Regions from separate parts of the Homo sapiens genome. Here region 1 is linked to region 2. The links are contacts of gene promoters, found by promoter capture Hi-C in blood cells and fetal thymus (Javierre and others, 2016). All regions are on one chromosome and are shown on one strand. Each heading gives the region's core, a stretch centred on a gene start or on the middle of the fragment in contact. The rest is flanking DNA. Distances are from core to core; before and after follow the strand shown.

The links. The method cuts DNA at HindIII sites, captures the fragments that hold promoters and counts their contacts. A CHiCAGO score of 5 or more calls a contact.
Region 1: a fragment that was not itself captured here is called in contact with the fragment with the promoter of NXN in region 2 in 2 of 17 cell types (megakaryocytes and endothelial precursors); the score reaches 9.3 in megakaryocytes.

The regions. Positions count from the first base shown.
Region 1 is chr17:1,050,481-1,058,064 of GRCh38, reverse strand. ABR (ABR activator of RhoGEF and GTPase) reads left to right here. Exons shown (of 23, transcript NM_021962.5): 12 at 20-95; 13 at 963-1,067; 14 at 1,956-2,030; 15 at 7,431-7,528. Among named protein-coding and RNA genes, the nearest start is that of MIR3183, 32 kb to the right of the region's middle. The HindIII fragment of the contact is 2,524 bases long and covers 1,589-4,112 here.
Region 2 is chr17:977,846-984,712 of GRCh38, reverse strand. NXN (nucleoredoxin) reads left to right here and starts at 4,937. Exons shown (of 8, transcript NM_022463.5): 1 at 4,937-5,394. The coding sequence starts at 5,035. RefSeq lists enhancers at 3,370-3,664, 5,089-6,024. The HindIII fragment of the contact is 5,276 bases long and covers 3,333-6,867 here.

The DNA.
Region 1 (7,584 bases), core at 1,601-4,100, 75 kb before region 2:
GCTTATCTCCTCTCTTCAGAGTTACCTGTTCCTACTGTCCTCGGACTACGAGAGGTCAGAGTGGAGAGAAGCAATTCAGAAACTACAGAAGAAGGGTAAATTCCTGCCTCTTCCACGCTCCCCAATGATGTCCGTGGCATTGATGGGCCTTTTGTATTTCTAAGCGTTTCATGTCCAGTATCACGTCTTTGGCCCTCGCAGTCACCCTCAGAGGTGCCAGGGTGAGCGTTTAAGGATGTTACGGATTAATTGAGACCCAAAGAATCTAACTGATTGGCTGAAAGACATGATGATTTAGTCCTGGGACTGGACCCAGAGCCCAGCCTGGGCTTTCTCTCTCTCTCTACCTCTCTCTCTCTCTCACACACACACACACAGAGACACACACACACACACACACACACACATACACACATACACAGAGGCTGGGTACGGTGGCTTACGCCTGTAATCCCAGTCAGGAGTTTGAGATCAGCCTGGGCAACGTGGTGAAACCCCGTCTCTACTAAAAACACAAAAATTAGCCAGGTGTGGTGGTGGGCACCTGTAATCCCAGCTACTCAGGAGGCTGAAGCAGGAGAATCCCTTGAACCTGAGAGGCGGAGGTTGCAGTGAGCTGAGATCACAGCACTGCACTCCAGCCTGGGCGACAGAGTGAGACTCCGTTTAAAAAAAAAACGAAAACAAAACGCATACACCACACACACACACACACACACACACACACACACACACACACACACACACACACACACAAACCTCTTCAGTTAGATTCTCCTACTCTGACCCCTCTCGCAGCATCTACACCAGTCCTGCTGTGTCCACAAATCCTTCCCCCTCCCTCGCAAGGACCAAGTCTGCCCCAGGGATTAAGCCGTCTTCCTGCAGCAGCCCCCAGGGAAGAGCAGCCGGTCCTGGTGGACCAGTGCCCACGCTCCCTTCTCTCTCGGCTCTCCCTCCAGATCTCCAGGCCTTTGTCCTGAGCTCAGTGGAGCTCCAGGTGCTCACAGGATCCTGTTTCAAGCTTAGGACTGTACACAACATTCCTGTCACCAGCAATAAAGACGGTAAGCTCGGGAACCAGAGGTGGCCCAACCGGCAGGTCCCAGCCCTCAGAGCGTGGCCGGCTTCCCGTAAGGACTCAGACAGACATGTGGCTGTAAATGGCTGATCCCTGCTCGGCTGTGCTGAGACTGTTGAGTGGCCAGGACACAGCTTGGGTAGGGGTGACTGTCTACTGAGTTCCCAGATGACCCCAGCTTTTCCTTGGGCCCCTCTGTCTGGCTTGGGAGAACTGGCACCCTGGTGCACTGAGATTGTGCTGTTAATATATTCATGAGAGAGCAGACCCGGTAGATAAAATGGTGTATGGGAAATGAGGCTGGAAGTTTCCAGGGACCAGCTCTTGAAAGGCCTTGAATCCCAAGCAAGGGAGTTTGGAATTCATGCTGTAAGCCCGGGAGTCTGGGGGGGTTTTGAGCAGTGGGGAGCTGTGATCAGGGCTGGGAACTGACCGGAGTGGGTGTATTCTAGCTGCCTGTGTGCTGGGAAAGGGTCCACTTTGTGAACGGGGTCCTGAAGGCAAGCTTTCCTCGACATAAATCATTAGCAGAATGATTTATCATATTGGTCAGTTTTCAGTGCCAGGATAGGCAGGATTTGGAGGGAGAGACAGTACCCATGGGGAATGGTACTAAGTCCCTGGGCCAGGATGGTGGGTGTGCTGGACCCCCCCAGGCTGAGTGGAGGAGAGAAGGACCCCCTAGCCCTACCCCGGGCAGCTCACATATAAGGCCGCCGTGGCCTTCGGAAACTTTTTCATCTGGCCACCAGGTGGTGATGTTGGACCAAGACTCAGCTGAGTCTCATACCCCGTCTGCCTCCCGCCGGCCTGGGGTGGAGGCTGAGGGGATCCGCTGACCACCCTCTGCCCTGGGGGCTTTTCTCTCTTGCAGACGATGAGTCTCCAGGACTCTATGGCTTCCTTCATGTCATCGTCCACTCTGCCAAGGGATTTAAGCAATCAGCCAGTAAGTGCCCTGGCCAGGACGAGGTTGGGTGGGCCATTGTGGATTCTGCACTGCTCTGCCCAGGATGGGGCCCTGCCAGCACGCCTTTAGACATGGGGCATTCCCCTGGAGGCCAGAAACCAGCTCCTCTTGGCAGGGAGGTCACCCCTGGCCTTTGTCTCCAAAGTCCTCTTTCTCAAGCCCTCCCTGAAGCTGTCTGAAACCTAGGGGCCGGGCGCGGTGGCTCACCCCTGTAATCCCAGCACTTTGGGAGGCCCAGGCGGGCGGATCACGAGGTCAGGAGTTCGAGACCATCCGGGCCAACATGGTGAAACCCCGTCTCTACTAAAAATACTAAAATTAGCGTGGGCATGGCGGTGGACGCCTGTAGTCCCAGCTACTTGGGAGGCTGAGGCCAGAGAATCCCTTGAACCCGGGAGGCGGAGGTTGCTGTGAGCTGAGATCATGGCATTGCACTCCACCCTGGGCGACAGAGCGAGAATCCGTCTCAAAAAAAAAAAAAAGAAACCGAGTGCGACAAACACGTGGACTCCAACTTCATATCTGAGGGCGACAAACACGTGGACTCCAACTTCATATCTGCCCATGACAAGCTGTGTGACCTTGGGCAAGTTTCTTAACCTCTCTGGGCCTCCACTAAAAGGCAGTCACGCTTGTGAATTTTGACCCGAGAGCAGGCTGGGATATGATCGTGTGTGTGCAACGCTGGTGTGCTGCCACGCTCATCGCTTTTTCTCCCCTTCCCCCTTGTGGGTTCCTCATACTAAATCTGTTTTTAGTGTCTCACAAAGTAGGATTGCACTTTTTAATTTTTAAAAAATTTTTTTTTAGAGACAGGTTCTCCCCATGTTGGCCAGGCTGGTCTTGAACTCCTGGGCTCAAGCCATCCTCCCACCTCAGCCTCCCAAAGTGCTGAGATTACAGGCGTGAGCTGCTGCGCCCGGCCTGGTTGCGCTTTTTATCTACCTGTTATCCACACGGGAATCTGTGAGTCAGTTAGACAGCTAATAGTTTCTACCCATTTGCCAGAGGAGGTAACCGAGTCACAGAGAGGAGAAAAGACTTAACATCACAGAGGATCAGAAACCCTGACTCTCTCCCTCTCCACCTGCCCCTCCCACTCCCTGCTCTTCACTGGCAGGTGGGGTCTGCCCTCACCCCTCCCTGCAGCGCCCCACACAGAGGTGACTCCCCGGGCCGTTAGAGCAGCCTTTCCCAGGAAGCCTCCCTGAGTTCCTGGGGGCAAACTGGCCTCCCTTCTTTGTCCCTTCTTTGTGCCCACATCCCCTCAGGTTCCTTGTGCCCCCATCCCCTCAGGTTCCTTGTGCCCCCATCCCCTGAGGTTCCTTGTGCCCCCATCCCCTCAGGTTCCTTGTGCCCCCATCCCCTGAGGTTCCTTGTGCCCACATCCCCTGAGGTTCCTTGTGCCCCCATCCCCTCAGGTTCCTTGTGCCCCCATCCCCTCAGGTTCTTTGTGCCCCCGTCCCCTCAGGTTCTTTGTGCCCCCATCCCCTGAGGTTCCTTGTATCCCCATCCCTTTGAGGTTCCTTGTGCCCCCATCCCCTGAGGTTCCTTGTGCCCCCATCCTGCTCAGGGCAAGCTGGTTATGGCACCTGTCATGCTGTTTTGTCACTTAACAATTTGCGTCTCCCACTGTGAGTTCTCTGAGGGCGGGAACCAGGTCTCCTTTACCCTGGGATGCATGGGAGCTCAGAAATGTGGAATGAAGTCGTTAATTTACACAGCACCTACCGTGCACCTGGAGAAGGTGAGAACATGGCTGGCGTGTGGACGTACTCACATGTGCAAAGCCTGTGGCGTGTTCAGAGCCTCTCAGTCTCACGGTCCGCTCTGAGCCTCCGGCATCCCGCCGAGGTCACGGAAACCATCCCTGTTTTACACACGAGGACGCCGAGGCTCGGAGGGGCTCAAGGTTCCTTCCTGGAGTCACACAGTAGCAGGTGGTGCAGCAGAATCCACGTCTTCCGGCACCAGAGCCGGAGCTCTAACCTTTTGGGCACTTCTCGATGTCTGGCCGGGAACACCACACGGTCCCTCAGGCTGCTTGTTACCGTGGAAGCTTCCTGAACTCTCTCCAGACCCACAGACCTCCCTTCTTGGGGGCTGCCGCTGAGGAGCTTCTGGCTAGTGAGCTCTGAAGCACTGTCCCACCCATGTCTGGACCAGGCGCCACCACTCCATGTCCCCAGATGCCGCCCCTCCCTCTCCTGCTTCCCGTTGGCCGGGAGGTCCTCGCCTCAGGGAGCCGACCCGTGGCCTCCCAGCCTGGGCGGGTGTCAGAGCCGGCTGAGCTGCTCCAAAATCTCTCTTTACCCCCAGATTATCCTCACTCCCTTCGCCGCCGCCACCCCTGACCCACTCATATGTCTGTTCTCACTCAGAGGTGAGGCCCTGTGTCTTCAGCCGTGGTAAACTCAGGACCTCTGGACAGGCAGGCCCAGGGTGTAGGCACCATGACTTTTCCTGCTGTGCAGACAGGAACCTGGGGAGAGAAGGGAGGTGATCTGTGCAGAGCTGGGGTGTGGACCCAGATGGTCTGACTCCGGAACCCTCGCTCTGACCCTGTGAGCCGTCCCCAGCTCCTTCCGGAACCCTCCCTCTGACCCTGTGAACCCTCCCCCAGCCCGTTCCGGAACCCTCCCTCTGACCCTGTGAGCCCTCCCCCAGCCCCTTCTCGAACCCTCCCTCTGACCCTGTGAACCCTCCCCCAGCCCCTTCCGGAACCCTCCCTCTGACCCTGTGAACCCTCCCCCAGCCCCTTCCGGAACCCTCCCTCTGACCCTGTGAGCCCTCCCCCAGCCCCTTCCGGAACCCTCCCTCTGACCCTGTGACCCCTCCCCCAGCCCCTTCCGGAACCCTCCCTCTGACCCTGTGACCCCTCCCCCAGCCCCTTCCGGAACCCTCCCTCTGACCCTGTGACCCCTCCCCCAGCCCCTTCCGGAACCCTCCCTCTGACCCTGTGAACCCTCCCCCAGCCCCTTCCGGAACCCTCCCTCTGACCCTGTGAGCCCTCCCCCAGCCCCTTCCGGAACCCTCGCTCTGACCCTGTGACCCCTCCCCCAGCCCCTTCCGGAACCCTCCCTCTGACCCTGTGAGCCCTCCCCCAGCCCCTTCCTGAACCCTCCCTCTGACCCTGTGACCCCTCCCCCAGCCCCTTCCGGAACCCTCCCTCTGACCCTGTGAACCCTCCCCCAGCCCCTTCCGGAACCCTCCCTCTGACCCTGTGAACCCTCCCCCAGCCCCTTCCGGAACCCTCCCTCTGACCCTGTGAGCCGTCCCCCAGCCCCTTCCGGAACCCTCCCTCTGACCCTGTGAACCCTCCCCCAGCCCCTTCCGGAACCCTCCCTCTGACCCTGTGACCCCTCCCCCAGCCCCTTCCGGAACCCTCCCTCTGACCCTGTGACCCCTCCCCCAGCCCCTTCCGGAACCCTCCCTCTGACCCTGTGACCCCTCCCCCAGCCCCTTCCGGCACCCTCCCTCTGACCCTGTGAACCCTCCCCCAGCCCCTTCCGGAACCCTCCCTCTGACCCTGTGAGCCCTCCCCCAGCCCCTTCCGGAACCCTCCCTCTGACCCTGTGAACCCTCCCCCAGCCCCTTCCGGAACCCTCCCTCTGACCCTGTGAGCCCTCCCCCAGCCCCTTCCGGAACCCTCCCTCTGACCCTGTGAGCCCTCCCCAGCCCCTCGAGGAGGGGCTCACACCGAGATCAATCCATGATGACAGCACTTCATGGCCCGTCTCAAACACACAGGCCCACTCCCTGGTCTGGCCCAGGCTGGGGTGCTCAGGGCCTCTGTGTTGTTCACCTGCAAATCCCCAGCCCCGTTCTGTGTGTTCTGAGGCCCACCTGGGTCTTCTTTCTGTTGCTCCAGCTGGAGGCTTCTTGGGGTAGCTGCACTGTCCTTTCTGCAGGAAAGCTGGTTTTTTTGGTTTTTTTTTTTTTGAGAAAGAGTCACTTGGTCGCCCAGGCTGGAGTGCAGTGGTGCCATCTCAGCTCACTGCAACTTCCACACCCCAGGTTCAAGCGATTGTCCTGCCTCAGCCTCCCGAGTAGCTGGGACTACAGGCATGTGCCACCACGCCGGGCTCACTTTTGTATTTTTAGTAGAGATGGGGTTTCACCATGTTGGTCAGGCTGGTCTCAAACTCCTGACCTCAGGTGATCTGCCCACCTTGGCCTCCCAAAGTGCTGGGATTTACAGGCGTGAGCCACCTTGCCCGGCCAGGAAAGCTGTTCTGATGGAGAATGGCCCAGCTGGGCAGCTGCAGGGGCTAAGTGGAGTAAGCCACCTGCACTGTATGCCCGCACTGTGACCTCTGACGTTGTTTCACGCTGCAGAGGGTTGGCCATAGTGTCCCAAAGGCACCTCCCACACCACCTCTGGTACCCTGGGAACAACCTCGGCATCTCCCTGGAGGTGGGAGGACTGCTGGGGTCCGAGCCCAGGGCGGGTGTGGGTTTGCAGAGGGCCTGGGGTCCGTGCCGGTGCTGTGGCCTCAGCAGTTGGGTCCCAAGGTAGATTTTCAGCCTGAAGGCCAGGGTGGAAGATGGAAATGCCGGGGAAAGCCCCCGGCCCTGCCCTCCCGCCCCAGCCCTCCACTGCCTTGTTACCTGGAGCGCTTGGTGGTGGTGGGAGCCTCGTTCACCGTGTGCCAGCTGGGTTCCCAGCCCTGTTCTTGGTACTGCGGGTACACCGGCAGGCAGGAAAACCCAGGCTTCTCTCCACATGGTGTTTACGTCGTGGGGGGAGAGAGACTAGGGACGCACGAGTAGAGAAGATCCCTTTGGTTTATGTTAAGTGCAGCGGAGGAAACCACAGCACCCTGGGCTTGGGGATGTGGGCGTTGTTGGTCGTCACCGCGGCAGGGGATGCTCCGAGCATTCAGGACCCAGAGGCAGGGCTGCTAAACGCCTCCCACCCCAAATGCCGCTGTTGAGGCCTGGGCACCCATGTTACGGGGAGAGGTGGCTCCAGGGCGGTCAGTGAAGAGTTTGTGGTGTCGTCTCCATGGTGAGGAAGATGTGGAGACGGAACAGTCAAGGGCCCTTTAGAGGGAGGAGGAGGCCAGAGTGTGGGGAGGGCCGAGGTGGGAAGGGCAGAGTGTGGGGAGGGCCGAGGTGGGAAGGGCAGAGTGTGGGGAGGGCTGAGGTAGGAAGGGCAGAGTGTGGGGTGAGCCGAGGTGGGGAGGGCTGAGCCCCTAAGAAGGGGGCAGGGGAGAAGCCAGATGGTCCCGGGCTTCAGGGAGGAGAGAGCCAAGATGCCATCCGTGGGGACGTTGGAAAGGACAGATGCGATGTCCCCCTCCATCCTGAGTGCCGCCCCAGCTGCCCCACCCTGGCCCCACTCACTCAGTATCTCCGTCTGTCCTTCCCCCACAGACCTGTACTGTACCCTGGAGGTGGATTCCTTCGGCTATTTTGTCAGCAAAGCCAAAACCAGGGTGTTCCGGGACACAGCGGAGCCCAAGTGGGATGAGGTGAGTGGCAGGGGCTGGCATCTCTGTGGGGACCCCACCACCCCGTGCTCGTGGCT
Region 2 (6,867 bases), core at 3,688-6,187:
TAATTTTTAGTAGAGATGGGATTTTGCCATGTTGCTCAGGCTAGTCTTGAACTCGTGACCTCAGGTGATCCGCCCACCTTGGCCTCCCACAGTGCTGGGATTCCAGGCATGAACCACCGCGCCCGGCCCACATCATGTGTGCTACTCTTTCTAAAGTCCAAGGACTGTGATTTATGAATCTTAAAAGTGACAAATATATATTTGTGCTGTGTGTATTTCGTATGACTTCATGTGCCTTCAAAAGCAATTTCTGAAGAGAAAATTCTAATATGTTCTACAGAATGCGATACATGTTGAGGCTCATTCCTACATATTTTAAAACAATAATAATTTTCAGAATAGCCAAGTCGATTCATGTAACATCGCTAGCTGAACACCAGTGGGGACATTCTCCTTTAGAGAACCACATACACAGAGAGCAAGATTTCTGTAGCCCAGAGCACACTGGCTAATTCTTCACAGGATGCCAAATGACTCCTTGGGCTTCTTATAACACCCACTACAATTATGATTCTGGGATCATTTCCATTGCAAATCCCCTCTTTCCACACCCCTTTAAAAGGCAGCTGTGATATTTGGCCTCTAACCAAGGCCTGCCGCATCCACAATTCTCTAAATTTTATTTATATTTCATGTGCAGTGTGTTCGAACTCTCCCTTCCCCAGGTGCCAGATGCTGGTTTGGACACACTCCAGTGGAAAGTGCTTTCCTGTTAAATAAGACAAGTCACACATGGAAGAAACCTCCTCTTTATATCAGACTTGCACCAAGTATACCAAAGTTAATACTCGAATATTTGCAATATTTGCAGCCCCCCAAATTCCCTCTTCACCGGCCTCCACACCAAATGCCTCTTGCCCTTTGGCTGCCGTAGCAGGTAAATGCTGATAGCCCTTTTACATTTCTGTAGTTTTCATAATTTTGAAAGTGTCAGAGTGTAGGACTCTAACACTCTTTCAGTAGTGCCTAACCCACGTACCCAGTGCATGGGCCTTTCAGATAAGATTTGGATGAGATGATAAAACATTGTAACCCATTTACAGGATTTCAAAAGATGTCTAGTAACTATGTGTGTGTGTGTGTGTGTGTGTGTGTGTGTGTATATATATACTTTTTTTTTTTTTTTGAGATGGAGTCTCTCCCTGTCGCCCAGGCTGGAGTGCAGTGGTGCGATCTCGGCTCACTGCAAACTCCGCCTCCCGGGTTCATGCCATTCTCCTGCCTCAGCCTCCCGAGTAGCTGGGACTACAGGTGCCCGCCACCTCGCCCGGCTAATTTTTTGTATTTTTAGTAGAGACGGGGTTTCACTGTGTTAGCCAGGATGGTCTCAATCTCCTGATCTCATGATCTGCCCGCCTCGGCCTCCCAAAGTATTGGGATTACAGGTGTGAGCCACCTCACCTGGCCTAGTAACTTAATATATATGATATGAGTAGCTTTAAATGTTTTCACCAAGGCCGGGTGGTGGCTCATGCCTGTAATCCCAGAACTTTGGGAGGCTGAGGCGGGTGGATCACTTGAGGCCAGGAGTTTGAGACCAGCCTGGCCAGTATGGTGAAAACCCCGTCTCTATTAAAGATACAAAAAATTGGCCAGGCTTGGTGGCGGACGCCTGTAATCCCAGCTACTCCAGAGGCTGAGGCAGAGAATTGCTTAAACCTGGAGGGGCGGAGCTTGCAGTGAGCCGAGATCGCGCCACTGCACTCCAGCTTGGGCAACAGAGCAAGACTCTGTTGCAAAAAACAAACAAACAAAACAAAACAAAAAAATTAGTGCATGCCAGTAATCCCAGCTATTTGGGAGGTGGTGCATGCCTGTAATCCCAGCTACTCGAGAGGCTGAGGCAGGAGAATCACTTGAATCTGGTAGGCAGAGGTTGCAGGAGCTGAGATCGCACCACTGCACTCCAGCCTGGGCAACAGAGTGAGACTCTGTCTGTAGGGACCAGCCCCACAGGGTCAGTGGGTCTCTCCCCGTGTGCGGAGACGAGAGAGTGTAGAAATAAAGACACAAGACAAAGAGATAAAAGGCAGCTGGGCCTGGGGAACCACTACCACCAAGTCGCGGAGACCGGTAGTGGTCCCAAATGCCAGGCTGCACTGATATTTATTGGATACAAGACAAAGGGGCAGGATAAGGAGAGTGAGCCATCTCCAATGATAGGTAAGGTCATGTGGGTCACGTGTCCACTGGACAGGGGGCCCTTCCCTGCCTGGCAGCCGAGGCAGAGAGAGAGAGGAGACAAAGAGAGAAACAGCTTCCACCATTATTAGAGACTTTTAGTACTTTCACTAATTTGCTACTGCTATCTAGAAGGCAGAGCCAGGTGTACAGAATGGAACATGAAGGCGGACTAGGAGCGTGACCACTGAAGCACAGCATCACAGGGAGACAGTTAGGCCTCCGGATAATTGTGGGCGAACCTGCAGTCAGGCCCTCCACAAGAGGTGGAGGAGTAGAGTCTTCTCTAAACTCCCCCCGGGGAAAGGGAGACTCCCTTTCCCGGTCTGCTAAGTAGCGGGTGTTTTTCCTTGACACTTACGCTACCGCTACACCACAGTCCGCCTGGCCACGGGTGTCTTCCCAGACGCTGGTGTTACCGCTAGACCAAGGAGCCCTCTGGTAGCCCTGTCTGGGCATAACAGAAGGCTCGCACTCTTGTCTTCTGGTCACTCCTCACTATGTCCCCTCAGCTCCTATCTCTGTATGGCCTGGTTTTCCCTAGATTATGATTATAGAGCGAGGATCATTATAATATGGGAATAAAGAGTAATTGCTACAAACTAATGATTAATGATATTCATATATAAGCCTATCTAAGATCTATATCTGGTATAACTATTCTTATTTTATATTTTATTACACTGGAACGGCTTGTGTCCTCGGTCTCTTGCCTCAGCGCCTGGGTGGCCTGCCGCCCACACTGTCTCAAAATAAATAAATAAATAAATAAATAAATAAATAAAGTTTTCACTAAAAAGTGATGCTTTCTGTGTGTGTTTTATAATATTGTCCCTACAGTGGCACAGACTTTCAGCATGAAAGTCTCCTGAGAATTAAGGTGGAATTCGACTTTGCAGTAGGATTCTAGGGTGTTCGAAGGCGGTCCTCCATCTAAGATCTTACCTGTGTCATTAGCAATACCAGCAGGTGACTAAGGAAGTGGATATAACTTGTAGAGACGCCAGTCCACTTTCCGCTCCCATCTCCACCTCTCCCAATTGTTTTATATGGTAACATTTCACCAAGCTGGAACCCTGCACCATTCCTTATTCTACCCTAGAAAAACGGAGAACCTTCGATGTGAACACTTACGTTTTGTGCCAAAAGCTTGAAGTTCTATTCTGAGGTTTAAATTAGCTCCCGCAAAGCGTCCTATCATTTGTGTATGTGGAAAGCTGCTGTAAAATAAAAGCATTGTGCCTGGTGTCCCGGCAGTGTCTTTTCACAAATGGAGTTTGGTCGGCCTCATTTTTCACTCTTTCCATTAGGTGGCGATGGATGCACAGGAAATATCCTCCGAAGCGGCGGTGGAAGCTCTGAGAGGGGCGGGTTTTCAGCTTTTATTTTTTTGCTTTCGCTGAGTCGTCAGTAGCTGATCCACACCGGCGGCCTGTTACTGTGGCTGGGCCCGGATCTGCACCTGCTTCGTGCACCAGTGGGTTGGGTTGGGGGGAGGCGCTGCGTGGCCAGAGTACTCGCCACGGACCACCTGTTTTTTTGTTTTTTTTGAGACGGAGTCTTGCTCTGTTGCCCAGGCTGGAGTGCAATGGAGCGATCTCGGCTCACTGCAGCCTCCGTCTCCCGGCTTCACGCCATTCTCCTACCTCAGCCTCCTGAGTTGCTCGGATTACAGGTGCCTGCCACTACACCCCGCTAATTTTTGTATTTTTAGTAGAGGCGGGGGGGGGGTGTCACCATATTGGCCAGGCTGGTCTCGAACTCCTGACCTTGTGATCCACCCACCTCGGCCTCCCAAAGTGCTGGGAATTCAGGCGTGAGCCACCGCGCCCGGCCCAGACCACCTGTTTAATCCAGCTTCTCCCTAAGCATTGGGGAGCATCCTGCCAGCTGGTAGGAAAAAAAAAATCTCTAGAAATGTTCTCAACTATCCATAGACTTGACATGAGGATGGAGCGGATTCAGGAGCGCGGCCAGCATTGGTCTGGAGGCCCCGCGGCGTCCTTTGCATCCATTTGTGGGGCTGGAAGACAGATTCGCTGGGGGGAGAGGCCCCGGCGACCCCTGGACGGAAATCCCACACTGAGACCTGGCACCCTAACCAGACCCCACCAGAAGCTGCGAGGGCGTCCTCGGCCCCCTTAGAACAGCTTGGAACACACAGAGGAGTCAGTGTCCAGCCAGGCCCGGCCTGATGCAGTGAGGACGGCGGGTCCTATAAGCATCTCAGGGTCAGTGGGGCCCGGAGCGGCCTAAGGGTCAGGCTTCGTGCAGGGAGAGGAGGAGGGAAAGGCCGGGGAGGAACAGGAAGAGGGTGAAGAGCTCCGCGGGGAGGGGGCGGGATCCCTGGAGGTCTGGAGGGAATTTAGAACTGGGGAGGAGAGAAAATGCGGGCCGGGCTGCAGCCCGGGAAAGCGCCGGCTCAGCGGGCCCTTCTCCTTTCTTCACTTCGGCCGTGGGCTTTCCAGGGAGAGTGCGGCGTTTCGGGTCCGGCTTCTCGCCCAAGCAGTCACCCCGCGCACCGCGGCCGGCAGCTGCGGACCCCGCCTGGGCGGAGAGCTCTGGCCACCGCCGGCCGCAAACGGGGCGTGGCGAGGGCGGAGGGGGCGTGGCGAGGGCGGGCGGAGGGGCGTGGCGAGGGCAGCCGAAGGGGCGTGGCGCGGGCCGCGGAGGGGGCGTGGCAGGGCGGGGGAAGGGGCGTGGCGCGGGCAGGCGGAGGGGGCGTGGCGTGGGCGGCCCTACTGGGCCGGGCTCTGCTCTCCCCAGCGCCTGCCGCCGACGCCGCCGCCTCCTCCCGCCGCGCGGACCGTGGAGCGGGGTCGCAGCCGCCTGCCCGCCCTGCGGTGGGCCAGGATGTCGGGCTTCCTGGAGGAGCTGCTCGGCGAGAAGCTGGTGACGGGCGGCGGCGAGGAGGTGGACGTGCACTCGCTGGGCGCCCGCGGCATCTCGCTGCTGGGTCTCTACTTCGGCTGCAGCCTCAGCGCCCCCTGCGCGCAGCTCAGCGCCAGCCTGGCCGCCTTCTACGGGCGCCTGCGGGGGGACGCGGCGGCCGGGCCGGGGCCGGGAGCGGGGGCCGGGGCGGCGGCGGAGCCCGAGCCGCGGCGGCGCCTGGAGATCGTCTTCGTGTCCTCGGACCAGGACCAGCGGCAGTGGCAGGACTTCGTGCGGGACATGCCGTGGCTGGCGCTGCCCTACAAGGAGAAGCACAGGAAGGTGAGCGGCGCGGGCCTCGCCGGCCCCTGCCCGCCCCCCACGCCCGTTACCCCTGCCCGCCCCCCACGCCCGTTACCCCTGCCCTCCGCCAACCCCGTTGTCCCCCTGCCCGCCCTCCACCCCCCGACCCCTGCCCCCAGTCCCCCGCCCCCCGACCCACTGTCCTCTCCCCGCCCCCCACCCCGCCGTCCCCGCCTCTGCCCCCCCCCCTTCCGCGCTGTGCCCGCACCCTCATCCCAGGACCCCTCTTTGGTTCGAGTGCTGCGCTGCGCCCGCCCTGGAAAGTTGGACCCCCCTCGGCCCCCGGGATCCCGGCTCGAGCCCCTCCGTCCGCACACGCTGGGAGCCTCGGGTGGGGGCGGCTGCGCTCGGGGATCCCGGTTCCGCGACCCCTTCACCCGCGAGCAGAGGCGCCAGGCCCTTCCTGCCTCCGCCGCCGACCCCCGCGGATTCCCACAGTGGGGAGGGGAGGGGAGGGGAGGGCGCACGCCCCCCGCCCGTGGCGCCCAAACCAGCGCGTTTCCTTTCTTTCCGGGAGAAACCTGCCTTCCCGGAGCCCCTTCCCCGGGGACCGGGGACCTGGGGGCCGAGGCCGAGGTCAGGAGAGGCGGCCGGTGACCGTGGCCGTGGCTGTGGCCGAGAAGGGCGCTCACGGCTCCGTCTCCCGCCCCCGCCTCCCCCGCCCCAGGCTGAGTTCGCGGCCACCGGGGAGCTTTGCATTGTCTGGCCGTCCAGCCTCCTCCCCAGACGCCTCCCGGGCGCGGGAACAGCCCGGGCTGTGCAGAGCTCAGCTGCGTGGTGGCCCCTGTGGTCCCGGGGTCTTCGAGTTAAGGGCTGAGCTGACCCCATCGATGCACATTGACTGGAAGAAGGAGGATTTGGGGAAATGGATACTTTGCTGTCAACTTCTCGTGTCTCCCAGTTTGCTGCCGAGTTGAGTTTGGGTTTCTGAGTGTGTCCCTTGGGTGAGGATGTCTGTCTCTGTGATAATAAAGCACATCCAGGACATTTTGTAATGAATGGAGTCAGAAAAAGTTTTGGAGCGCTGTTGCTTCGTGAGTGTATATGATGCAACGTGTGAATCCAGCCCCTTTCCCTTTTTGAGGAAAGCCTGTTTCTGGAGTGGACAGAAGGGCTATTCTGGGGGCGTTTAGTTTCCTCTGGGGAGCATGGCGAGGCGTGCCACGTGTTCCTTTTATATGTGCAGAATCTTGTTGAGAAGCATGATTTAGATTTACTGGGAGCAAAAGGCTTACACTGTGACCCCAAATGTCTTGAGTAAATCATCCATCCCGAAGCAGTGGGAGGTAGAGATTCGAGATTTAAAGTATGAAATACAGTTGATCCGATGCAGTTTGTAAATTTCATATTGGGAAAACATAGGTTCACTAACCACTCAGAGGCAAGAGTTGGCATTTTTACTGCTTTTTAGGTTATTTTGCCCATTTTGATTGACATGCTTGATATAGTATG